Linked DNA regions of Homo sapiens: all the other regions are linked to region 6. Evidence: promoter capture Hi-C in 16 types of primary human blood cells and fetal thymus (Javierre and others, 2016). All regions are on one chromosome and are shown on one strand. The core of a region is centred on a gene start or on the middle of the fragment in contact, and the rest is flanking DNA. Distances in the headings are between cores, read along the strand shown.

The links. The method cuts DNA at HindIII sites, captures the fragments that hold promoters and counts their contacts. A CHiCAGO score of 5 or more calls a contact.
Region 1: a contact is called between a fragment that was not itself captured here and the fragment with the promoter of KRT23 in region 6, in 3 of 17 cell types (total CD8 T cells, naive CD4 T cells and activated CD4 T cells). The highest score is 7.9, in total CD8 T cells.
Region 2: a contact is called between a fragment that was not itself captured here and the fragment with the promoter of KRT23 in region 6, in 10 of 17 cell types (non-activated CD4 T cells, total CD4 T cells, activated CD4 T cells and 7 more). The highest score is 14.2, in non-activated CD4 T cells.
Region 3: a fragment that was not itself captured here is called in contact with the fragment with the promoter of KRT23 in region 6 in 1 of 17 cell types (total CD8 T cells); the score reaches 6.2 in total CD8 T cells.
Region 4: a contact is called between a fragment that was not itself captured here and the fragment with the promoter of KRT23 in region 6, in 12 of 17 cell types (naive CD4 T cells, activated CD4 T cells, non-activated CD4 T cells and 9 more). The highest score is 11.2, in naive CD4 T cells.
Region 5: a fragment that was not itself captured here is called in contact with the fragment with the promoter of KRT23 in region 6 in 1 of 17 cell types (M1 macrophages); the score reaches 5.8 in M1 macrophages.
Region 7: a fragment that was not itself captured here is called in contact with the fragment with the promoter of KRT23 in region 6 in 8 of 17 cell types (naive CD4 T cells, naive CD8 T cells, non-activated CD4 T cells and 5 more); the score reaches 10.7 in naive CD4 T cells.

The regions. Positions count from the first base shown.
Region 1 is chr17:41,618,613-41,622,010 of GRCh38, forward strand. KRT17 (keratin 17) reads right to left here. Exons shown (of 8, transcript NM_000422.3): 4 at 2,981-3,142; 5 at 2,354-2,479; 6 at 2,047-2,267; 7 at 1,924-1,946; 8 at 830-1,076. The coding sequence ends at 982. Among named protein-coding and RNA genes, the nearest start is that of KRT17, 4.3 kb to the right of the region's middle. The HindIII fragment of the contact is 2,565 bases long and covers 844-3,398 here.
Region 2 is chr17:41,637,253-41,641,113 of GRCh38, forward strand. It overlaps the pseudogene KRT42P. Among named protein-coding and RNA genes, the nearest start is that of KRT17, 15 kb to the left of the region's middle. The HindIII fragment of the contact is 3,640 bases long and covers 1-3,539 here.
Region 3 is chr17:41,600,341-41,603,773 of GRCh38, forward strand. No RefSeq gene overlaps it. Among named protein-coding and RNA genes, the nearest start is that of KRT16, 11 kb to the right of the region's middle. The HindIII fragment of the contact is 9,356 bases long and covers 1-3,433 here.
Region 4 is chr17:41,653,887-41,657,631 of GRCh38, forward strand. It overlaps LOC124904004 (a long non-coding RNA gene), which reads right to left and starts at 1,248. Exons shown (of 2, transcript XR_007065756.1): 1 at 1-1,248. RefSeq lists enhancers at 1-362, 363-1,059. The HindIII fragment of the contact is 2,956 bases long and covers 320-3,275 here.
Region 5 is chr17:41,683,531-41,687,300 of GRCh38, forward strand. No RefSeq gene overlaps it. Among named protein-coding and RNA genes, the nearest start is that of EIF1, 3.5 kb to the right of the region's middle. The HindIII fragment of the contact is 6,365 bases long and covers 1-3,770 here.
Region 6 is chr17:40,936,351-40,939,833 of GRCh38, forward strand. It overlaps KRT23 (keratin 23), which reads right to left and starts at 1,296. Exons shown (of 9, transcript NM_015515.5): 1 at 996-1,296; 2 at 1-603. The coding sequence starts at 253. The region is part of intron 1 of LOC107985072 (a long non-coding RNA gene); the gene reads left to right. The HindIII fragment of the contact is 1,536 bases long and covers 850-2,385 here.
Region 7 is chr17:41,560,479-41,564,317 of GRCh38, forward strand. No RefSeq gene overlaps it. Among named protein-coding and RNA genes, the nearest start is that of LINC00974, 7.9 kb to the left of the region's middle. The HindIII fragment of the contact is 7,476 bases long and covers 1-3,839 here.

The sequences.
Region 1 (3,398 bases), core at 876-3,375, 680 kb after region 6:
ACGCCACCCCTGTCCCTAGTGGGGAACCAAAGAGGACCCAGACTGCCAGGGAGAGTGGCACTGCTCCCTGGGCACAGCCACCCCATCTGCAGTGCCCCCCCACTCCACCCCGTCCCCATCCCGAGCAACAGCTGACCATGTGAGGAAGCATCCCTGAGAGAGGCCCCACCCTTTCTCCCACACCTGCCTGGGGTCCGTAGCCTTCCCTGAAAACGCCAGCCTCCCACTCACATTCCCAGGGCGGAGGCAATGGGGGCCTCTCTTGGGGATTTCCTGAGACTCACACAGGAGTCTGGGCCCCAACCACCCAGCCTGCCTCCCCCACCCACCCTCCCTTTGTGCTTATCCCAGCCCTTGCCCACCTCCTGCCCCATCTAGGGGTAGGGCACGGCCCACAGGACCGGGAGGAACAACTGATTGAGTGAGTCATCTCTGAGGATTCAGGCTCCCACACCTGAGATCTTCCCATCCGTTTATGGATGAGAAAGCAAGGCTCAGTGAGGGGAAGTGACTGCCTAACTTCTCGAGGTCACAGAGCTACTCACAGGGCAAGCAGTGGCCACCTAGGACCGCACCTGATACACCAACTCCACCCCAGGTCTAGCGCAGCCTGGACCACCCCCTGAAAATCTCCAGCCCTTGGGAGAGGCAAGCACCCCCTTCCAAACTCTCCCCAGACTTACTCTTTATGCCGGTCTAAGCTGACCCCTGACCTGCCAATCAACAACGGTGGGTCTCCAAGCACCATCTCCCCTCACCCTCACTCCTTCCCATTTCACCCTTTTGTCCCTAGTCCCCACTTCAGGGGCCAGAACAAGGACACATTTCATAGCTGAGTCAACAAGCTTTATTGTCATCAGGCAAGGAAGCATGGGGAAGGGACTGAAGCAGGGGGCTGAGGCTGGAGAGGCCGGAGACTGTGGGGCAGATGGGGCGGCTGCCTCCCTGCCTCCTGGGTGGCCGGCCGGGGTAGCTGAGTCCTCAGCGGGTGGTCTGGTGGACCTGCTCGCGGGAGGAGATGACCTTGCCATCCTGGACCTCTTCCACAATGGTACGCACCTGACGGGTGGTCACCGCTGCAGGAGAAGCAGGCAATTTAAAGTGGGTAGGGGCCAGGAGGCCCTCGCTTGCCCCCTAGCCCTCATGGACAGGAGCCGGCTCTCTCCCTCATCCTCCCCCAGGTGCTGTGAGTGCCTCCACTGGCACCTCGACATCACACTGCACACACATCCCTCCTGTCCCTGCCACCACCTCCCTTCCATCCCATCCCTCTGCCGGTGGCCCTGTGTGAGTCTTGCCTCCCCAGATGGGTTATTTGATTCTGATCCAGTGTGTCCTGCCAGGGAGGAGCCATGTAGACTCCATGAAATCCGTCTCCATTTCTCTGCAGTCTCTAGGACATAGATTTTCTACCATCTCCCCCATCAGACTGGGATCGCCAAGACAAAAACCAGGCCCCTATCTCCTCCATTAGACTAGGAACCCTAAGGCTAGGATCATATATTCTCCATCAGATTGGAATTTGGAGGACAAGGACCATGTCCCTATCTCCCATCAGGCTACAGACCCCAGAGACAGGACTGTTTTTGCTCATCCAAAAGCTGTCAAGAGCAAAGATCATGAGACCATGTTCCTATCTTCCCATCAGATGACAATCTCCAGAGCTGGGACCTGTCTCCTCCATCAGACTAGGATCTCCAAGGTAAGGACCAGTTCCCTGCCCCACCCCCATCAGACCAGACAGTGTCTCTCTCATTTGATCTTTTCCTGAGTATCAATCCTCAGTGCTAATGAGTCACTTCTCCCTGCTGAGGGACAGCCATCAACTCCTGGAGCTCCTGGGGACCCTGCCCCAGCAACGTGCAGGTGGGCTGCCTGTCCCATGCACCCAACCCCCAGGGCCGAAGCCACGCAGATACTTACGTTCTTTCTTGTACTGAGTCAGGCTGAAAGAAAAAAAAAAACAGAGAGGAAATTAGATGTGGGTCTGAGAGCCCCACCCCTGCCAAGAGACCCCCAGCCCTGACCCCAGGCGCCCCCACTCACTGGGCATCCTCTCCCTCCAGCAGGCGGCGGTAGGTGGCAATCTCCTGCTCCAGCCGCGTCTTCACATCCAGCAGGATTTTGTATTCCTGGTTCTGCTGCTCCATCTCGCAGCGAAGCTGGGCCAGCTGCTCCTCCACGCTGCCAATCAGCCCCTGGATCTGGGACAGCTGCACGCAGTAGCGGTTCTCTGTCTCCGCCAGGTTGCCCTCCAGGGATGCTTTCTGCAGGAGGGCAGGAAGACCAGGGGTCAGTGAGGATGGTCAATGCCCTCTTCTGGGCCCTCCCCCATGCACAGGACTGTTCCTACCATGCTGAGCTGGGACTGCAGCTCTATCTCCAAGGCCTGCATGGTGCGCCGGAGCTCCGAGATCTCACTCTTGCCACTCTGCACCAGCTCACTGTTGGTGGCCACCTCGCGGTTCAGTTCCTCTGTCTGCAGACAGGACACAGGACAGGGCGGTGTGAGCCTGGATCCCTCTCCCAAGTCAGGCCTCCTCCCAAATCTAACTGTGGAGAGAGTGTGCCTTCTCACCAGCTTCCCACATCCCAAAGCCCAGAAACATGCCATTTGAAATGTTAACTTTTTATGGTTAATCCCAGCGTGTGGGAGGCACAGACCGGAAACTTGAGAACAAGCCAGAACATGTAGCCTGGCTCTTGATGCTAGTTCCTGACTTCTTGAGGGAGACGTGGGGACTCCCAAGGTCTTTACCCTCTGCCTTTATTCTGAGGGAGCTCCCTACCTCCCCACCCACCCGCCAGATCCCAGCTTGAGCTCAGCTCCATGTCTGTTGATGCAGTGGGTGACCCTGTGGTCCATGCAGCTTACTGAGGAGGGGCACCTCCAAGACATCTGGCCGTGGGCTTACTGTCAGTGCTAAGGCCCCTGAGCCCCAGCCCCTAAGAGAGCCCTCTGGCCTGCAGCACCCCCCACCTTGCTGAAGAACCAATCCTCGGCATCCTTGCGGTTCTTCTCTGCCATCTTCTCATACTGGTCACGCATCTCGTTGAGGATGCGGCTCAGGTCCACGCCTGGGGCAGCGTCCATCTCCACATTGATCTCACCACCCACCTGGCCTCGCAGGGCGTTCATCTCCTATGGAAAAAGGGGATGTGGATGTGCGCATCTGGACCCATCCTGACCTCTCACTCCCAAGCCTTCCCCCACAAGGGGACCCCACTTCCCACAAGGACCCCTCCTTTGTTCTCCCTCTGCTCTATCTGACCCTCTAAATGATTTTTATTCATCTGCTCAGTATTGCCTCCACCATCAGACTCTATCTCCCCCATTAGACCAAGGACTCTCCAAAATAAAATCTAATTATTAGGCCTATGCCCCCAAAAGTTCCCCT
Region 2 (3,861 bases), core at 470-2,969, 700 kb after region 6:
ACAGGACCTGCCTGGAATTTGAGCAGAGCTAGGGTTTGGGGACAGTGTCCCCTAATATCACCCCTACTATGTTGTGGGGAGGCAGAGGGCGTAGAATGATCTGGGGCCCTATGGAAAGGAGATGTTCAATAGATGCATTTTTTTTTACTTTAAATAGAGATGGGGTCTCACTATATTACCCAGGCTGGTCTCAGGCTCCTGGGCTCAAGCAGTCCTCCTGCCTCTGCCTCCCAAAGTGCTGGGATTATAGGAGTGAGTCACCACGCCCAGCCAATAGATGCATATTGATATTGACAAGGTTGACAAGGTCTGGACAGGATCAGTGGCTCACACCTGTAATCCCAACACTTTGGGAGGCCGAGGCAGGCAGATCACTTGAGGTCAGGAATTTGAGACCAGCCTGGCCAACATGGTGAAACCCCGACTCTACTGAAAATACAAAAATAAGCCAGGCGTGGTAGTACCTGTAATCCCAGGTAGTCAGGAGGCTGAGGCAGGAGAATCGCTTGAACCCGGGAGGTGGAGGTTGCAGTGAGCTGAGATCGTCCCACAGCCCTCCAGCCTGGGCAACAGAGCGAGGCTCCATCTCAAAAAAACAAAAGAAAAAACAAAAAGACAAGGTCATGCCCCGTCTGCCCAGCTGGCCTTGGCTCCTACGAGCCCCCGCAAGGATTAACTGTCAACCCTTAGGATGGTGCCCACCCCATACCCCACACCCCTGCCCAGAACCAGCGCGGGCTGTATGCAGCAGGTGCTCTGTGAGTGCTTGCTGAATTGTTAGGGTCATGGAGCCTGAGCAGTGACTGGGGAGGAGACAAGGTCCCAGGAAAGGGACATGGCCACCTACCCTTCCCCTCAAGGAAAAGGGTCAGTATCAGGTGGTCAGGGAAAGTGAGAGGCCCTGGAGCCCAGAACGGGCTCCCAGCTGAGACCTTGGCTTCGCTGATGAGGAGAGAACCCCAGAGACCCTCATTCCACCCCTAGTCCCCTGTCACTAAGACCCACTGGGGTCCTTTCCATTCACCCCTCAGACACAGAGCCCCTGTCACCTGCAGGGCCCTTGGAGGTCACAGATCTCCTGCCCCTCGCTCACCCCCAGGCACTCCCACCCCTGGCCCAGCATCGCCTGAGAAGTGCACCCTCACCCAGCCACACCTGCCGCCTCCACAGGTGGAATCCTGCTTCCTCTATTCTGTTTCCTGCCTCTATCCTGAGGCCCCAGGCGGCCCCACCCAGATCCTCCCACCCTCCACCTTCCCAGGGCCCTGGGAGATTCGGAACATTGCTGGGTGCCCTGAGCCTCTGCCCCAGTTTGAAGAGACAGAGGTAAGGGGATCCCCCAGCACCCCCTGTATACCCAGGGCTTGGCCAGGGGCTCCCCTACCCAGGGGTAAGTGGACCCAGCCTTTCTTCCCCTCTGCACCCCTCACTCACCTCTGACTGGTTTCCAGGAACTGTCAGCCTGTGGCGGATCCAAGACGTAGGATACGGACACCCAGGAACACCCCACCCTTCCAGGCAGCACATCAGCTGTCCAGGGGCCCTTCCCAAAAGAGGGCCTAGAGGACTGAATGCCTCGGATGAGGCCCAGGGCGGGAGGACAGAGCAAGGGAGGGAGGGAGGGAAGGCTGGGGACCAGTGGGAATGAGTGGGGAGGACATCACGGACAGGAAACCCAGGCCTCGGGGGTCACCCGTGGGACACCTCACTGCCTCTCACAGGGTGAAGACTCCTGTGAGAGGAGTCTTGACCAGACGGCTTCGTCCCTCTGTCCTTCCCTCTGTCTTTCCCTCCCTCTGCCCTTCCCTCCCTCTTTTTCCTCCCTCTTTTCACTTCCCCCACCGCTTCCTTGGCCTGAGAGATGCATAGGGGTGAGTGAGAGGCAGAAACTCCAGTGGGTTCCCCTTTCAGGCTCACACCCCCTCTCCACTCTGCCCTGCAGCCTGGCTGAGGGCAACCTGAGGGCCTGGGGAAATGGGAGTCAGAGACACCAAGGGGACTCCAGGCTCCTTCCCACCCTGCAGACCCCAAACCCCCAGCTGCACCTCCCTCCCCGACCCAGCTACCAGCTCGCTCCTCCCTCCCTGCGCCCTGGGGAGGCTGGTTTCTCCCTGTTGATGAGCGCTCATTCGCGCCTGCTCTGCAATGCTCTTGAGTGGCTTTCTCCAGGGGCAGATGAGGCCAGGCTCCCCAAAACAGAGACTGTGTCTCTTCCCTTAAATTGGACACTTCCTCAAGGTAGCAGCCATGTCTCCCCCTCAGATTGGGGGCTCCCTTGACATAGGAGCTCTTTCTCCCTGATGTGAAGGGGGTCTCTCAACTCCTTGTCCTGGTGTTGACCACCCAGCCCACCACAGTGTGACACACCTGACTGACCAACAAGGGAGGAGAAGCAGGGCAGGGAGCACTGAGGGAGGAGGACCAGGGCAGGGAGGACTGCTGGAGGAGGAAGAGGGGACGGAGGACTAGGTAGGTAAGACCAGCGGAAGGAGGACCAGGGGAAGGGCATGAGGAGAGGGAGGACTAGGGTAGGAAGACCAGGGGAAAGAGGACCAGGGGAGGAGGACTGGGGGAGGGAGGACCAGCAGAGGAAGGGCTATGGGAGAAGAACCAAGGGAGAGAGGACTAGGGGAGGGAGGACCAGGGAACGAGGACCAGAGCAAGCCATCATCTATCCTTTCCAAGGGCAAAACAGGAGAACAGGGCAGGAGCATTCCTTTGCAGAGGCCTGGGCTCCATGGAGTGTTCTGCCTGAGCCCCAGCCCGCCATACAGGCCTGCTTCCTCCATCCAGGAAGCTGAGCTGCCCTCCAGCCAGCCAGGAGCAAGCTCCCTCCACTAAACTCCTGCAGCACTGTGGTCCCTGCCATCTCTGCCTCAGAACCCAGGGTCCCTGGGAGCCTTGTTATTGAGTGTTTCTGGTTGACGCACTTTTTTCAGCAAAGTTTCATGGAGAGGGACCAGAGTTTCTAATCTTCACAACCACAGGGTCAGGCATTGTGTTAGCTATGATCACACTCTATGATGTCATGCAAAGAGCTCCAAGTCCAAGAACCTGGGGTCAAATCTGGACTCTTGCCCAACTTGGGCAAGTCATTTTTCTTCTTTTAGGCTCAAACCCTCCTCCTCTGCAGAATGAAAGGACTAGACTTTTTTTTTTTTTTTTGAGACGGAGTTTCACTCTTGTTGCCCAGGCTGGAGTGCAATGGCTTGATCTCGGCTCACTGCAACCTCCGCCTCCTGGGTTCAAGCGACTCTCCTGCCTCAGTCTCCAGAGTAGCTGGGATTACAAGTGCCCACCACCGCGCCCAGCTAATTTTTTCTATTTTTAGTAGAGACTGGGTTTCACCATGTTGGCCAGGCTGGTCTCAAACTCCTGACCTCAGGCGATCCACCCACCTCAGCCTCCCAAAGTGCTGGGATTATGGGTGTGAGCCACCAAGCCCAGCCAGGACTAGACTTTTGTAACAAACTCTTCATGAGATTAAATGAGTCAATATGTAGCTGTCACAGGCCTTGTAGTAACTAGTGATTCAATAAAGCTTCGGTGACTCCAAAAGCTGGCTGGGCAAAGCCTCCCTGCCATGAGAAGTCATCCTGCCCTGCCTGTGGTAGGCAGAATAATAAACCCCAAATATGCTGGGTGCGATGGCTCAAGCCTGTAATCTCAGCACTTTGGGAGGCCGAGGTGGGCAGATCACGAGGTCAGGAGATGGAGACCATCCTGGCTAACACAGTGAAACCCTGTCTCTACTAAAAACACAAAAAATTAGCCGGGCGTGGTGGCGGGTGCCTGTGGTCCCAGCTACTGGGGAGGCTGAGGCAGGACAATGGTGTGAACCTGGGAGGCGGAGCTTGCAGT
Region 3 (3,433 bases), core at 708-3,207, 660 kb after region 6:
GTAAAATGGGATGAGTCAGGTGTGTGGAGATAGCGAGGAGGCCTTGCAGGGAGCATGCAGGGAGAAGGCATTTGCTCCAGCTCATCTTTAGGAAGCAGAACACAGCTGCCTGTCTGCAGCCTTGCTGCCAGAATCAAATCAGGCAATAAAGGGTTGGGCAACATTAAAAATTGTCAAACAGGAGAGGGAAGCAACAAAAAATGTTTATTGGGTACATACTGTGTGTTTTATCCACCCTTTATCTCCTCTATTCCTCAAATGAACTCCTTCAGATAAATACTAATACCCTAAATGTACGGATGAGGAAAATGAAACTCACAGAGACCAGGGGCGGGTGGAGGATCCCTCCAAGTTCACGCTGGAAGTTCAGCTTCAGGTTAGCCTCTGCCCTCCCCCCAGCTATTCGACACTACCTCCTGCAAAGGACTGTGATCTGATCTTTTTAAAAAATGTTTTCTCTTGGTTATCAGTTTTAATTTGTATAGTTATATTATTATCTAAGCATAAAGTAAATTAAAAATCTATTTTATGATCACATAAAATTGACAGGCCAGAATATTAGTGCATGCAATCTGTTTCTAATTAGGAAGTCGATGTGGTATTCAACAAATTAATTGATTCTTTGGTTCTTAAATTGTTGTTTAGTTTCTTTATTCATATACACACACACACACAATTTTATGCACATGTATTAAAATGTGTGTGCACTCTTTTTGTTCCTTTCCTGTTTTTCTTGGCTCCCCTTTTCCCCTCAACCACTGCCACCCACATCAGCCTTCAACCCCACCCCCACAGTAATCTATGTTCATAACTCTGTATGTATCTTTTCATATTGTTGGTGCTTATATAATCTCACAGACACATGCACATGCATTTACATAAATGAGGGATGAGGGGTTGGCTGTTTATTTCACATAAGTGAAATCAATATCCTACATGTACATTTCTGCATTCCACATTTCTCTCTCTCCAATCCCTGGAGGAATCCCTCCTTGCCATCCAATAAATAGCTCCAATTTATTGACTATAATGGCTGCTTAATACTCCAGGGTAGCAGTGGACCATTATTTATTCCACCTGTCCACTATCAACTTTTAAAAATGTGTTTGCCACCTTCTGTCACTACAAATAAACAGCAGTAAATATCTTTGCACATATGCCTTTTTATACTGGTCTGTTATTTCTATTAATTTAAAATTAAGTGAAGTCCCTTAAATAATTTGAAAGTCATCTTTGCTGTATAATCACATATAACAAAGCTGGAAAAGAACCTGGTAGAATAAAAGGTCTGGTGACAGAACAATGGATGAGTGTTTTCATTTTCTATATTTCCTTTTGTTTCGTCACACTATTCATATGGTAGATAAAAGCTAGAGACGTATGGGATTTTTTCTGTTGTTTTTTGTTGTTGTTGTTTGAGACAGGGTCTCACTCTGTCACCCAGGCTAGAGTGCAGTGGCACACTCTCGGCTCACTGCAACCTCCACCTCCTTGATTCAAGCGATTCTCCCACCTCAGCCTCCCAAGTAGTGGGGCTATGGGCACGCACCACCACGCCTGTCTAATTTTTGTATTTTTTGGTAGAGATGGAGTTTCACCATGTTGGCCAGACTGCTCTCAAACACCTGACCTGAGGTGATCCTCCCTCCTAGGCCTCCCAAAGTGCTGGGATTACAGGCGTGAGCCACAGCACCAGGCCGACGCATGAGTTTTATGTGTAACAATCCTAACATGGTAGGAGAAAGAGGGACCCTTGCAATCAACAGTGTGTTAACTAGGGGTGAAGTCAGAAATGGCGTCTCCTGGATAGCTGCCACTATTGCTTTAACACCCCTTGATCTGCTCAAAGCCCTTCGGGGGTCTTGGACTGTTGGGGATTCCAGGATGCAGACAGCACATCAGAGGAGGGGCCAGATAAGGAGCTCCACTGCCTCATGCCTCAGTTCTGTAGATGGGGCTCCATCCCTCCAGGGCTCAAGAAGATATTTGCTTTCACATCCATGCCAGCTTGTCAATACCTACCCATGGAGACCTCCCTGTGCCAACACAATGAGAAGCACATGGAACCCAGAGAAGCCTGCCCTCAAGAAATTCTTCTGAGCAAGTTCTGTGGAGTCCTGAAAGAGCAGAGACTTCTAAACCAAACCTCCACGGCCTGACTCCACAAGTCTTTACTGAGTGTCCTTTATGGGCTGGGTACCATCCAGGGGCTGTTGGTAACTAGCAAAACAAAAGTTTCATTACTGTTTATGTTTCGGGGAGCAGACAGAAGGTCTTAAACAACAAGCTACAGCAGTGAAAAGACAAGCACAAGAAATTGCTTATCTCATACACTAGGAGGGACACTGAGCTTATTAGAGCTCTCAGAAACAATGGACCCAAAGAAAGCAGAGCTTTACAAGCATACCACTCATTCATTTACAACAGCAGATGCACTTTATGGGCTGCCATTAATTCTCACTCTAGTCATTGTTTTTGCACCTCATGCAATTATCTAAAACAATATTTGCCGAACTTTGACAGTAAGTCAAGCATAAGGAATCTGAAGGTACCTTCAAATTAGACAGATTTCAAGGAACACTGGGAGTTCTCAACCTTCTCAGCTCAGGTGCCAGGATCTTAGGAAGTGGGAAAGACCAGGCAAGAGCAAAAGGCAGTCTGATTTGGGGCTTGAATCATAGTTTGAGAAATCCAGGCAGCAAGCCATTTCCAGATGGAAATTCTGGTTCCCTTATTGAAGGGAAAACTCATATTTCTGCACAATATTGTCCTTCTGTTTAAAAGGGGCTCATGATTTGTTTCTACAAGATAACAGCAATGAAGAAGAGATAAGTGATTTCTGCTCTCCGGGAGTTTTGCTAAGTGACTGTGAGACCCCAAGAAAGTTTTTTTTTTAATTTTCCTTTAACTACTGTAAACCTGAATTTCTGCATCTGTCAGGTAGAGGCCTTTCGTGATGAGCTTTCCAAGGATCTGCTCCTGGGGGTTAGGCACTCGGAAGATACGGGTACAGACAACTTCTTTAAAATAGCACCCATGCCCAGGCTGGGCATGGTGGCTTACGCCTGTAATCCCAGCACTCTGGGAGGCCAAGGCAGGCAGATCACTTGAGGCCAGGAGTTTGAGACTAGTCTGGCCAACATGGTGAAATCCTGTCTCTACTAAAAATACAAAAAAAAAAAAAAAAAATTAGCTGAGTGTGGTGGCACACACCTGTAGTCCCAGCTACTCAGGAGGCTGAGGTATGAGAATTGCTTGAACCTGGGAAACAAAGGTTGCAGTGAGCTGAGATCGCACCATTGCATTCCAGCCTGGGTGACAGTGAGACTTTGTCTCAAAAAATAAATAAATAAATAAATAAAATAAAATAAAATAGCACCGCATGCCCAGTTGGAGGGTATTCTACATCCTCTGTTCTGACATCTCATTAATG
Region 4 (3,745 bases), core at 548-3,047, 720 kb after region 6:
CTGCTGCTTCCTGGCCACTGCGGGGCCCTCACCACCACCTCAGCTCTCAGAACATCCTTCATTCTGCCCCCAGCATCTACTGAGCAATGACCAAGACCAAAGCTCCAAACCACAGACTGCCTGGGGCCTCGGCCTCCAGCTCTCCAACTGCAGAGGCAAGAGCAGAGTGTGAGGAGGGGGTGAGGAGTGGGCACCCCAATTGCCCTGGCCACTGTGGGAGCTTGGGCTCTAGCAGGCTGATCTCCCCCAGCCTGCACCCCACCCAGCAAGGACATGCAAGCCAAGCAGTTCCCACACCCCGTTCCTGGTGGCTGCCAGAAGCTTCCTTACAAGGCCCCAGCGCTGAGCTGGCTCAGCTGCAGGCGGGGGCCTGGGTGGGGCACAGCACACCTGGCTCAGCCAAGCCCAGACGCACCCTGCAAGTGAGGAATGCGGACGCCGCCCGGGCTGGCCCTGGGAAAGCTGCTGCCCTCGGCTCCTGCCCAGCCCTGACTCAGCCTAGGTGGGCCAGGGAAGCTGCAGCCTCAGCAGAACCAAGTCTCCCACCCCACCCTCCCCGCTGGCCTGCCTGGGATTGAACCAGGGGACAGGTCCTGGCAGGGGACTGAGAGTAGAGACAGCACCCCCTGGCCTCAGGACTTGGGGGAACAGCAGGGACTCTGTGGGACCTGCCCTTCTCCTGCACTGTCTGGAGGGTGCCAGCACAGCTCTGTCCGGGGGGGCTGCCCACAGCACATTTTCCCAGATGCCTGAGCCTCAGTTTCCTCATCCGTAAAAGGGGGCTAGTGACATTCCTGCCCACAGTGCAGGGCTGCAGTGGTGGAGGAGGTTCCCGGGAAGCATTTGAGAAGCAAACAGACCTCTTCCTAAGAAACAGAAGCGTCTGCCTAACCCCATGAGGCCAGGTGATCCCGTGCTCCATGCAGAAGAAACAGAAGCGTCTGCCCAGCCCCGTGAGGCCGGGTGGTCCCGTGCTCCATGCAGAGCAGGGTGACTCCATCATCCTCTGTCCCTGGCCCCAATACGGTTATTCCAAACTCCCCAGGACAAGGGCTGTGTCTCCCCCTCCGACTAGGCGGTCCCTGAAGGCTCGGGGCATGTCTCCCCTCAGACAAGAGGCTTCCCAGGGACAGAAACTCCATCCTCCTTGCTCCATCGCCCCACAGTCCCATGCCCTGCACTGCGGAAACCACAGGCCAGTGAAGGCCAGAAAAACTGCCCGTCCCCTCCTGGCGCCACCTTACCCCAGCCTCCCCAGGCCCTGACATCCACCTCCTTGCCCACCCAGCCAGCCCCCAAACGCGACGCTGGAGTGCCTCACGGTGCCCACCCAGACCCTGGGGATCAGGAGGCAGAGCCCCCCAGGTCTGGCGCTGGTAGAATCTCCCATCCCTCCCTGCCTGCAAAGAAAGGGCCCACTGGCCTCCCTCCCTGAGCCCTCCCACAGCTGGGCTGGCCAGAGAGAACTTTCTCCCTCTGCTCTCTTTCTCTGCTGTAGTTCAAGCACAGACCCTCTCACCCCAGCCAGCCCTTCTCCACCTTCCGGGCGCACAGTCTTAGGGGTGGAGCAGAGGCTGAGGTTGGGGGCCTCACAGTCAAAGGTGCTGAGACAACAGCCCCGCTGCCCTGTGCTCACTCAGAAGCTCCTGGGGAACTGGAGTGGAGGGGAAGGGTCCCCAAGCCCACAGGTTCTGGCTGCCCCTGCCACGTCCCCTCCCCCAGCCAGGCTTCTCCCAACTGCGGCAGGGCGTCTGGGCTCAGGTTGGGGTGCAGCGTTGGCAGGACAAACAGTCTCCAGTGTTGGGTGTTTGCCTCGGTTACCAAGGAGGGAGGTGAGGGGCCTGGCTCCCTGCCATGTTTGGGCCCCGGGCTGAAGGTGTGGGTGGCAGGGAAGGTGGAGGATTTGAGGTGGGGAGGCTCACTTCCCGCTCCCAGGGCTCGAGGGCAGGGCAAGCCAGCTGGGACTGCCAGATCCCTGGGCGGATTCAGACCTGCATCGGCCCTGCCTTTCTGCTGGCTCTGGGAAACTCAGTCAGGCAGGAGGAGACGCTGGGGGCGGGGCAGCCTCCCTTGCTGCTCAAAGCAGGGCTGTGGGCTGGAGGCTGGGCCCCGGCAAGTCAGGTACTGCCGTGGGTGTCCCAACCTTCCGGGACTGACGGCACCACGGCCTAACTCAGGCCGCCCGGGAGAGAGGCCTAGGAGCCCAGCTCTGGGCCCATGAATTTGGACAAGTCACCGCCCCTCTCTGGGCCCCAGTTTCCCCACCTATATAGTGTCAGGAGCTGGCCTGTGTAGTCCCACAGGGGCCTCCTTTGTTTTGTCCTCCCTGTCATGAGCTGGGCAGGTGGATGCTGAGGGGTTGAGGAGTTGGGCACTGAGCCGGGAGTTGTGACCCGGCCTTGAAGCCCTGGCTGGAAGGGCTCAGTACACATCCAGGCGGCCCTACTGCCCTGTCTGAGGCTGGCATGCAGTGAGTGCCCGGCTGAGTGCAGGAGCCCAGGGCTGTGGTCAGGAATGGCCGGGCCCTTTCTCCCTCTCTCAGCAATGATGAGAGCCACAGCCCAAGGAATCCCCTGCTGCCTCCTGCTCCCAGGTCTCCATCGCAGCCTCAGCATGACCGGCTCTGAGCAGGAAGTAGGGGAAGCAGGACAGAGGCTGGCCTGGCAGTCAGAGAGTGCACAGCCTGGCTCAGGAGGCTGGCAGGTCATCAGGGGCATAGAGCTGGCCCTCGTTGATGGGGCAGGGATGGCTTGGGGAGGGTGGAGACGCCGAGGCTTGAATTAGGGGGTGGGGGGTGCAGGTAGGGAAGAAAGGAAGAGGACTTGAGATTGTGACCAGGCAGTGCCACAAGGAACACAGGAGTGTGGGCCTTCCATGGGGAGGGAGGAAGGTGAGGCCAAAAGATGGCGGGGCAGGGGAAGGGACCACTTGCCTTGCAGCCCGGCCAGAGAGAGCGAGAATGAGCAGTTCCCACACCATGAAGACCTTTGCCCTGGCCCTGCTGGTGGCCCTGCTGTGCACAGAGAGACCCCAAGGTCTATGCTGCCACCAGTGCTTGGTGGCCCCAGCCTGGCACAGGCATGCCTGCCCCGCTGCCACATGCCCCTTCCCTGACAGGGTCTGCGTCTCGGGATATGAGAGACACAGGGAGTCTGGGTCCCTGTGGCATCTGGGAAAGTGAGAGTGGGGAACAGGCTCTGCCTCCTTTCCCTCCTGCCCCAAGAATGATACCATCATTTGGAATGTGGAGGTTCTGGACACCTCTATGAGTTCCAAGCTTTCTTGTTGCAAGAGAGGCCTCTGTAATGCGGGGGTCCTGGTGGCAGGCAGCACCTGGGCCCTTCCTTGGGACTCCTGCTCAGCCTGGGTCAGTTCCCCTCTGGGCCCTGCTGTGATGGCCTTTCCTGTCCCCCTTACCCCATGGCCCCCTCCTCTGTCCCCATGCATAGTGTCCTCCTCAGTTTGGGACCACTTCGGCACTGACCCTCGGGAATTCCAGTGTGGTTTTGCAGCCGCGCGTTCAGGGGAAGGATGTGGTGGGGCAGAGGCGGGGGCTTCCCTGTCAGGGGACTCTGGCACCGGGCGGGTCCCTGCGGCAGACTTGGAATCCCTGCTTGGACTCATCCTGTTACCTGGGCCCAGGGCCTTCAAACCCACATTCCCTACATCGCCACCTCCTTAAACCACCCGGCCTCAGAGCCAGGGGCCTTGCCATTTGCTGTTCTGAACCTGGAACCACAGGAAG
Region 5 (3,770 bases), core at 702-3,201, 750 kb after region 6:
GGGACCTTCTATGTGCATGGGAGCGGGGGAGGGGGAACTATTCTAGTCACTTACATACGTGGGTCGTTAAGTCCCAAATAAGGAATGCAAGAAATGTGGCATTAATTGGACTTTCTTTAAATCAAGTGAGATCCTTGCCAATTAACATCCCACTGGGCTGCTCAGAAATCCAGCCTTGGAAATGACAGGGGCTCCAGCCCTCCCCAGGATTCTCTCTCGCTCACAAGGTTTTCTAGAGCACCAGAGCTACAAGGAGCCCCTAGACCAGATCATCTATCTGCCTTGGTTACCATGGAGATGTCTATTTTCCCAGAGGGTGCAATCCCTTCCTGGAGGGAGATTCTGCTGCTTCCGTGCCACGTTGGTGGCCTTGGAGAATCTTATTGAGGTCGAGGGTCCCAAGGTGTCCTACACAGCCATGCCCTTGTCACATCCCAAGGAGATCACCATGGAGAGGTGCCCACCTCTGTCCCATCCTCATTCAGAGGGGCTCACTCCTGTCCCCTGCTGCTCTCGGAGGCTCTCTCTCTCCCTTCCCCTCTGGGAAACTGGTATAATCTATATAGTGGTTTCATAACTTTACATTTTTATCCGGCTGTACATAGTCTCCTCTTTAAATCCCCTCAACAGCCTATGAGAAGGGCATTATTGTCTCTGTCGTACAGAGGAGAAAATGCAGGCTGGGAGGGGCTAAGTCGCCCAGGCAACAAGATGGAGATGATATTCAGATACAGACACTCCAGAGCCTGTGCTTTGTACCCTGCCCTTGGCTGCCCAGGTGACAGCATCTCAAAGCCAGGAGCACACTAATAAAGAAGCCAGCATTAACAGCAGGCATGCATGCCACTTTCAAACTAATTACTCCTGCCTCCATGATTACTCCTCAGGCTCCTGGGGCTGGGGTAACCTCCCACACTGGAAGGTAGACTTCGGAAGACCCTTCTGGAAATGCTCCCAACTTGGGAAAACAGCGCTTCAGACTTCAGACCCAGGAAGAGATCACCCAGTGCTCCTTTTATGGGGCATACAACTGAAGCCAAGAGGTAAACCAGGTCACCCACAAAGCTGGTGGCAAGTCAAGAACTGAGTCTCAGGCCTGGTGCGGTGGCTCATGCTTGTAATCCCAGCACTTTGGGAGGCCGAGGTAAAGGATTACTTGAGCCTAGCAGTTCAAGACCAGCCTGGGCAACATAGTGAGACCTCATCTCTACCAAAAATTTAAAAAATTAGCTGGCTATGGTAGCACATGCCTGTAGTCCCAGCTACTCAGGAGGCTGAAACGGATCACTTGAGCCTAGGAGTTCAAGTCTGCAATAAGCTATAATGGCACCATTGCACTCCAGCCTAAGTGACAAAGCCAGACCCTGTCTCAAAAAAAAAAAAAAAAAAAGAACTGAGTCTTGGCCGGGTGTTGTGGCTCACACCTGTAATCCCAGCACTTTGGGAGGCCAAGGCGGGCGGATCATTTGAGGTCAGGAGTTCAAGACCAGCCTGGGCAATGTTGTAAAACCCCTTCTCTACCCAAAATACAAAAATTAGCTGGGCATGGTGGCACCTGCCCGTAATCTCAGTTACTTGGGAGGCTGAGGCAGAAGCATAGCTTGAACTCAGGAGGTGAAAGCTGTGGTGAGCCAAGATCGCACCACTTCACTACAGCCTGGACGACAAAGCGAGATTCTGTCTCAAAAAATATTTTAGTGTGACAAAATATTGCATGCACACTGGGAAGGACAGCTCCAATTCATTCATTCAAACTCTCTCCCAAAACCCTTTCCAGCAGAACAATGTCCGTCAGGGCAAAGTGTTGTGGGATGTCAGGGACTCCCAACAGAGGGACCCGCTGAAGCCATGGCAGAAGAACATAAATTGTGAAGATTTAATGGATATTTATTAGTTCCCCAAATTAATACTTTTATAATTTCTTACGCCTGTCTTTACTGCAATCTCTGAACATAAATTGTGAAGATTTCATGGACACTTATCACTTCCCCAATCAATACCCTTGGGATTTCCTATGCCTGTCTTTACTTTAATCTCTTAATCCTGTCATCATAAGCTGAGGAGGATGTATGTAGCCTCAGGACCGTGATGATTGCATTAACTGCACAAATTGTTTGTAGAGCTTGTGTGTTTGAACAATATGAAATCTGGGCACCTTGAAAAAAGAACAGGATAACAGCAATGTTCAGGGAACAAAGGAGATAACTTTAAACTCTGACTGCCCGTGAGCCGGGCAGAACAGAGCCATATTTCTCTTCTTTCAAAAGCAAATGGGAGAAATATCGCTGAATTCTTTTTCTCAGCAAGGAACATCCCTGAGAAAGAGGATGCGTCCCTGAGGGAGGCCTCTGAAATGGCCACTTTGGGGACAGCTGTCTTTTACGGTCATCGCTGAGGGATGAAATAAGCCCCGGTCTCCTGTAGCGCTCCCAGGCTTATTAGGACGAGGAAATTCCCGCCTAATAAATTTTGGTCAGACCGGTTGTCTGTTCTCAAACCCTGTCTCCTGATAAGATATCATCAATGACAATGTGTGTCTGAAACTTCATTAGCAATTTTAATTTCGCCCCGGTCCTGTGGTCCTGTGGTCTTGCCCTGCCTCCATTTGCCTTGTGATATCTTATTACCTTGTGAAGCACATGATCTCTGTGACCCACACCCTATTCGTACACTCCCTCCCCTTTTGAAAATCACTAATAAAAACTCGCTGGTTTTGCGGCTTGGGGGACATCATGGAACCTGCCGACATGTGATGTCTCCCCCGGACACCCAGCTTTAAAATTTCTCTCTTTTGTACTCTGTCCCTTTATTTCTCGGACCAGCCAACACTTAAGGAAAATAGAGAAGAACCTACGTGAAATGTCGGGGGTGAATTTTGCCTGATAGTAAAGGTTCCCAAGTTGGCTGACTGGGGCCTTAGCTTCTCAAAAGGGGAAGACCATGAGACTGGGATGCCCATGACCTAGCCATGGTTCCTCCTTCCTGATGTCAAGGAAACCAAACTATTAATCAAGTTTATTTAGTAAATATAGAATCAAAACAAAGTATCAGGCCAGGCACACTGGCTCCTGCCTGTAATCCCAGCACTTTAGGAGGCCAAGGCAGGGGGACTGCTTTAAGCAGTTGAGGCTGCAGTAAGCCATGATCATGCCACTGCATTCCAGCCAGTCTGGGTGACAGAGTGAGACCTTGTCTATATATATATATATATACACATACATATATATATACATATATACACAAATACACACACACACATATATACACACACTCATATACATATATATATATATACACACACATACACATATATATATCAGGTACACCTAGCATTTCCTCCCTCAGAGTTTTTCTGAGTTTTCTGGTGGGCACATGCCCTGCCCCACAGTGGACTCCTTCCTACCCTCTGTCAGCCAGAATGCTGCCTCCCCAGAGGCCTTCTCTGACCACCCCATCTGAAGGAGCCTGGCCCTTTCACATCACCCTGTTTACCTCCTTTTTGGCACCTCTCACAATCTGTCATTATCCTTTTTTTTTTTTTTTTGAGACATAGTCTTGCTCTGTCGCCCAGGCTGGAGTGCAATGGCGCCATCTTGGCTCACTGCAGTCTCCTCTTCCCGGGTTCAAATAATTATTGTGCCTCGGCCTCCCGAGTAGCTGGGACTACAGGCACACGCCACCACGCCCAGCTAATTTTTGTATTTTTAGTAGAGACAGGGTTTCACCATATTGGCCAGGCTGGTCTCGAACTCCTGACCTCGGGTGATCCG
Region 6 (3,483 bases), core at 46-2,545:
AGGCCAGGCGGTCGTTGAGATTCTGCATGGTGGCCTTCCCATTTCCGCCTAGTAGGGGGCTGCTTCTTCCAGAACCCCAAGACCCTCCAGGGGGTGGGCAGCTCCGCGTGGTGAAGGACAGGGAGATGCGGGCTCCCCCCGCACCGCCATGGACGGTGGGAGCCCTGGGGAAGCTCCTGGGCCGGCCCCAGCCACCTCCGGCGCCATGGAAGGAGGCCGAGGGGGTCTGGCTGAAGCTGTGTCCGGAGTTCATGGTCCCATCTGTGTTTGGGACGGGGCTGAGCTCTGCTCCACTCCCTGGCACCGCAGAACTGAGCCGCCCCAGACTGCCCTGGATGGTTTTATGGCCTTTGCTGTGGGAGTTCCCTTCTCTGACAATTGTACCAACAAGATTGTATCATTGTGCAACTTGTGTTTCCTCTTGGTCAATCCCAAAGTGCCCCTGGGCCTTCGCACACTGTTGTTGTTTAGAGCCACATCAATATGACAGTTTGCTTCCTCCCTTCCCCTGGTAACCCGGAGGTGTGGCCCACGACATCAGGCGGGTATTGGGCTCAGGTATCTTTCTAATCTTGCCGTGAAGTTTTTCCATTGTTCATTTACCTGGAATGGGTTAGGTTAAAGTCCACCCAAAAGAAAGCATATTCGATGTAGTATAGATTTCCTTAAAAAAAACCAAAAACCAAAACCAAAACAAAACAACAACAACAGCAACAAAAAACCAGACATTAAACAACAGAGATACACACACCTTTTTCCACCCCCAATAAGCCCCACCTCTAAAGGGAGGGTGAGCGAGCCTGGAGAAGGGAAAGCCAGCTCAGAACAGGATCTCAGGTCCCAGAATAAAGCTTGCTGTGCTGAGGCAGCCGAGAAGGTGGTGAATATCTGATGCCTTTGTGGCAGTCACTGTTTGAAGGAAAGTACTTTCAAAGGACTCGCTCTTAAGAACAAACCCTCAATTATAGATGTAATTAATTAATGAATGACCGAACCTTCCACTTCCAGGGTGCCTTTCATCCCAGCACACCTCAAAACCAAACAACCCTGGCCTGCGCTCAGGATTTCCCTTGGCCCTGGGGGAGGAATGTAGCCGTTGTTAGCAGCCCCGGACCCCGGCTGAGCCTGCCACGGCTGGGCTCTGTGTGTCTGTGACCTGCAGAGGGACGATGGAAAACAGGAAACCTGCCATGGGCTGTCAAATGTGGTTGATGAATCTTATATTTCATCTGCCAAGGTAAAGGTTAGGAATGAATAAAGAAGCAGTCTGGGGGCGGGAGCCACGTGCTAGTTACTGGCAGTTGGATTTAAAGGGGACTTACAAATAAAATATCAGCGCAGGAAGGGCTTCTGGCCTTTCTGGTTCCAAGCCACTAATTGGACAGATGAGGAAAGCTGAGGCCTATGGTGGTGGGGAGGTTAGTGGCAGAGCCAGGGCTAGATTCTTTCTCCACATAGCACTGTTATCTTGGGTTGAATCTTGACAGGTCCTGTACCACACTTCTCTTTCATAATAATAGGACTTGCCAATTGGTGTAGCTCTTTTATATTCTTTATTGAATCCTCACAACTCTTTATGTATCCAGGCAAGGGTTGTTGTCTTCATTTTGCAGACAAAGAATCAGGGTCTCATAGGGATGAATGATCCAGAGCTGATTCGCATGTACAGTGTAATTGAGCACATGAATTCATAGGTGACACTGCCCGAGTCTGTGCTGTCCTCCCTGCCTGGAAAGTCACTCACCCCTACCTCTTCTATAGTTCAAGGGCTACCTCCTTCAACAATCATTTTCTGAATTCTCCTGCATGAGTTGGGTGACCCTCTAGGAGGAAACTGCCTCTTCTGGATGCCGAGGTCCTCCAGAGGGGCAGACACCTTGGCATCCCACCTCATGGTGGAAGCTGGGAGCCCCTAGCCAGGCGCAGCCACCTCCTGTGCCTGGGATGAAGTCCACTCCGTTCTTTCACTCCATTATACTGCATTTGCCACACCCTTCTGAGACCGCAGGCTTCTTGAAAGCAGAGTTTATGTCTTCCATTTTTGAGCACCAAAGTCTGGTTTCTTGGTGGTATTTTGCAAATGTATGTTGACTCAATCATAAACTTTTTAGAGTCAGGATTTTAACACAGGTCTCCTGATGCCATCAACTTCTGCTCCTTTTAGGACTGTGAGTTATAGAACTAGAAAGTAGGAAAACGCCTCTCCTGGGTATAGATTAACCATCCATGAAGGCCAATCTTTTCCAATTACAAATAAAGCCACCCAAAAGCACACCAGCTCTGCTCCTCCCAGTCTTACAACAAAACCTTATCAGGGAAGAGTCTCTGAATATTTTTTATTTCACTGTGCACGAGCTGGAAAAATGAGCCTCCAAGCCTCAGGGAAGCTTGGAGAGTGCTTAGAAAGAGTGCCGACAGTCACTTACATCTCAGATATGAGAAAAAGACAAAAGAGACAAGTGATAAAAATAGAGCAAATGAGGGAACTAGAGAGACTTGTTTGGCGAGTGGTGGCAACCAGTGTTCTGTGGATGTGGACGGTTCCTGGTCATCAAAGTTATGGTCAGCTCTGGTTCCTGTTCGCCTGGACCCAGACTTACCAAGGAAGAAAACATTTACCTTTAGCATGTGCAAGGGCCGGGCTGCACTGCCTTTTTCTAAATTCTCTCACCAGAATCTACAATGAAATTAATGCTTCTCTAATTATTTCAGGCATGTCTGAGTGGCAGTGACTTATCAACCCCATAGATTTGGCCACTGTCTCATTTTATGTCCATGTGTGGGAGTTTTGATTTATAGGACTTATCCTTGAGCAAAAGATTTCTTGTGTCATAGCAGGACCAGGGCCAGGAAAAACTGGTGGTGAGATCTGAGAGCACTGGGGAGAAATAGTCTCTTCTAGTACTGTTATATGATGGTTTCCCATAACTTCTTTTTTTTTTTTTCTCAAGATGGAGTTTTGCTCTGTCACCCAGGCTGGAGTGCAATGGCGCAATCTTGACTCACTGCAACCTCCGCCTCCTGGGTTCAAGCGATTCTCCTGCCTCAGCCTCCCGAGTAGCTAGGATTACAGGTGCGCACCACCATGCCCAGCTAATTTTTTGTATTTTTAGTAGAGACGGGGTTTCACCATGTTGGCCAGGCTGGTCTTGAACTCCTGACCTCATGATCTGCCTGCCTTGGCCTCCCAAAGTGCTGGGATTACAGGCATGAGCCACCCTGCCCAGCCAATTTTCCATAACTTCTTTTTTTTTTTTTTGAGACAGAGTCTCGCCCTGTCGCCCAGGCTGGAGTGCAGTGATGTGATCGTGGCTCACTGCAACCTCCACCTCCCGGGTTCAAGCGATTCTTCTGCCTCAGCCTCCCGAGTAGCCGGGACCACAGGTGCGTGCCACCACGCCCGGCTAATCTTTGTAGTTTTTAGTAGAGACGGGGTTTTACCATGTTGGCCAGGCAGATCTTGAACTTCTGACTTTGTGATCC
Region 7 (3,839 bases), core at 388-2,887, 620 kb after region 6:
AGCAGAAGCAGCGTGGCTCTGCAACTCCAGCTGAGTCCAGAATTAGTGCAGAATGGACTCAGAAGGCTCCAATCTGACTTGGTGGTTTCATGGTCTTGGCAGAGGCAACAACTCCTTTGGCAGATCCACTCTGCTTTGTCATTTGGAGGGTTCTGGAAAAATCACCCTAGATTCTGTTTCTCCAGCCCTCCTAATGATTCTCTAAGGTATCTAGAGCTCTTGAAAATCCCTTACTTGTTAAAATAGGCAAAGTAGTTTCTGGTAGTTGCAATTGAGAATCTAACCAATATAGAGATCAGATGACAAATGGAGTTTTAGCCCAAGTTTGCTTCTCATGAGCCCAGTGGTATCCCAGACCAATCCTGTGGTTATTTCCCAGTGTCTGGAGTGGACTAGACATAGTCAGTAAAAGGATCCTGATCCTTACCAGTAAGGATTACGTGGTTTAGAAAAAGGACCAGCAACACTACATCTCTAAGGGAATGACAGAGATTAGTGCCACATGAAAGATTTGATGGGCCAGGAGTGGTGGCTCATGCCTGTAATCCCTGCACTTTGGAAGGGCAAGATGGGGAGAGAACACAGGAATGTAAGATCAGCCCTGGCAATAGAGTGAGATCCCTGTCTCTAGTTTAAAAAAAAAAAAAAAAAAAAAAAAAACCTCAAAAATTAGTCTGGCGTGGTGGCACACGCTTGTAGTCCCAGCTACTTGGGAGCCTGAGGTAGGAGGATTGCTTGAACCTGGGAGGTCAAGGCTTCAGTGAACTGTGATTGTACCACTGCCCACCGGCCTGGGCAACAGAGAGAGACCCTGTCTCAAAAAAAAAATGATAAATTTAGGGTTAACTTGCCTAGTTTTTCTGTGCAGAACATGAACAGATGTTAGAGAATAGCCATGAATTATTTTACAATTTATCACATGGTTGTTCCAACAGCAGTCGTTGATCCAGATTGTGTCCCTTTTCTAAAGCAGATCACCATTGACCCTGGCACCTGCTGTGGGAAATTCTTTTTTCTTTATCCCAATAAACAAAGAGTACCAGAATAAATATGCTTTCACCTGCAGAGAAAGCAACACGGTCATTCCCCTTATCCATGGTTTCGCTTTCCACAGCTTCAGTTACCTGTGGTCAACTGTCATCCAAAAATATTAAATGGAAAATTCCAGAAATAAACAATTTGTCAGTTTTGAAGTGTGCTGCCCTGAAGAGCATGATGAAATCTCACACTGCCCCACTCTGTCCAGCCCAGGACAGGAATCATCCCTTTGTCCAGCTCTCCATGCTCTATGCACCACCCACCCACTAGTCGTCGCTTAGTAGCTGTCTCAGTTGTCAGATCAACTGTTGCAGTATTGCCGTGCTTGTGTTCCCTTATTTTACTTAATTACGACCCCAAAGTGCAAGAGCAGTGATGCTGATAATTCAGATTTGCCAAAGGGAAGCCACAAAGTGCTTTTTTTTTTTTCTTAAAAGGAGTTTTGCTCTTGTTTCCCAGGCTGGAGCACAATGGCGTGATCTCGGTTTACCTCAACCTCTGCCTCCCGGGTTCAAGCGATTCTCCTGCCTCAGCCTCCCAAGTACCTGAGATTACAGGCATGCGCCACCATGCCTGGCTAATTTTGTATTTTTGGAAGAGACAGTGTTTCTCCATACTGGTCAGGCTGGTCTCAAACTCCTGACCTCAGGTGATCCTCCAGCCTTGGCCTCCCAAAGTGCTGGGATCACAGGCATGAGCCACCGCGCCCAGCCAGCAAAATGCTTTCTTTAAGAGAAAAGATGACAGTTCAAAACTTACTACGGAAAGAAAAAAACCATACGCTGAGGTTGCTAAGATCTACAGTATGATAAGATATTTTGAAAGAGAGAGACCACATTCAAATAATTTTTATTACAGTATATTGTTATAACGATTCTATTTTATTAGTTATTGTTGTTAATCTCTTGGTCTGCCTAATTTATAAAGTAAACTGTATCTTAAGTATGAATGTGTAGGAAAAAGCATAGTGTAGATAGATTTAGGTGCTATCCACAGTTTTGGGCATCCAGTCAGGATCTTTGAATGTATTCCCTGTGAAATAATGAGCAACTACTGGGCATCTTTTCCAGGATGTGCAGAGAATCAAACTTGGAGGGTATGCAAACAGAAAAATTCCCCAAATCACACTCAAGGATTGCTCTAGGAACACACCACTGCTGTCACTTCTGGCCACCAAAATTGAAGCTCAAACTATGGATGATGGGCACTGCATGTCTTTGCCAGAGCCGCTGCTATTGCTTCCTCAAAAAATCACATATCTCTGCCCAACCTTGTTCCTGCCATAAAAAATTCCACTCAGCACCTCCTTTAAATCAAAATCAAAGTCCTTCACTCCAATGGGGTGCCATGGTTAAAAAAAAAAAAAAAACGTCTTGTGCGGGCGCACCTGAGTGGCAGGGCTGTCAGGGGCCCATGCCCTAGATGCAGGTGAGCTCGGAAAAGCAAGTTTCTGACCTCTCCCTTGGGGAGCTTCACACTTAAGGTGGAGAATTTCCCAAATTGAGGTAGAGAAAAGATACATAAAATGGGCCAGGCCTTGTGGCTCACACCTGTAATCCCAGCACTTTGGGAGGCCGAGGCAAGTGGATCACCTGAGATCAAGAGTTCAAGACCAGTCTGGCCAACATGGTGAAACCCCCGTCTTTACTAAAAATACAAAAATTAGCTCAGCGTGGTGGCAGGTGCCTGTAGTTCCAGCTACTCAGGAGACTGAGGCAGAAAATCGCTTGAACCCGGGAGGTAGAGGTTGGATTGAGCTGAGATCGTGCCACTGCATTTCAGCCTGGACGACAGAGTGAGACTCCGTCTCAAAAAATAATAATAATAATAAATAAAATAAATAAAAAGATATGTAAAATGGTAGATGAGGAAGACAGCAGGTAGCAGAAAAAGAACCAGAGAAGAGTAAACAGTTGCATATTAACAGCGGAGCGCTAGAAAAGAGATCACAGACTCTCACTGCTCAGGTGTCTTGCTAGAGCCACCTTTGACCCAGAGACACTGATGACCTGCCTGCTCCCATATCCACAAATTCCAGGATCTTGAATCCCCCTGGGTTTCTGTGTCACTTCATTCCCTAAGTGTACTCTTACATAACCCCTCTGCCAGTGATTTGAGCCAGCCTGTGGCAATTTGTGTTTTCCAAAAATGACCACATCAATATATCCCATTGCATATGCTGTTCTTCAACGTGACATGGACACACCTCCATCTAGAGACGGGGTCTGTATTTGCTTTCTATTTCTGCTTAACAAATTACTGCAAACTCAGCAGCTTAAAATAGCACCCATGTATTAGCTGACAGTTCCACAGGCGTAATTGGATTCTCTCTGCAGGATATCACAAGGGTGAAATCAAGATGTCAGCCAGGCTAAGCTCTCATCTGAATTCTCATCTGGGGGTAATCTGCTTCCAAATTCTTCTTTGATCTTGGAAAACTTCAGGTCTTTGCAGCTGGAGGACTGCAATCTCCTTTTTCTTGCTGGCTCTCAGCTCCTAGAGCCCATCCACATTCCTTGTTCCATGACCCCCTTTCATCTTCAACCAGCAAGGGCACATTGAAATCTTCCCAGACTTCAAATCTCTGACTTCTGTGACCAGCCAGGCAAAACTCTTGGATTTTAAAGGGTTCATGTGATGAAATCAGGTCTGCCAGATAATCTCCCTCTCTTAAAGTCAACACATTTCAGAACTTAATTACCAAAATCCCTTCACAGTAGCACCTAGGTTAGTGTTTGATTGAATAACCGGAAGAAGATATGTGTACAGCAGGGCCAGAAATCTTGGGAAAGTATCTCAGA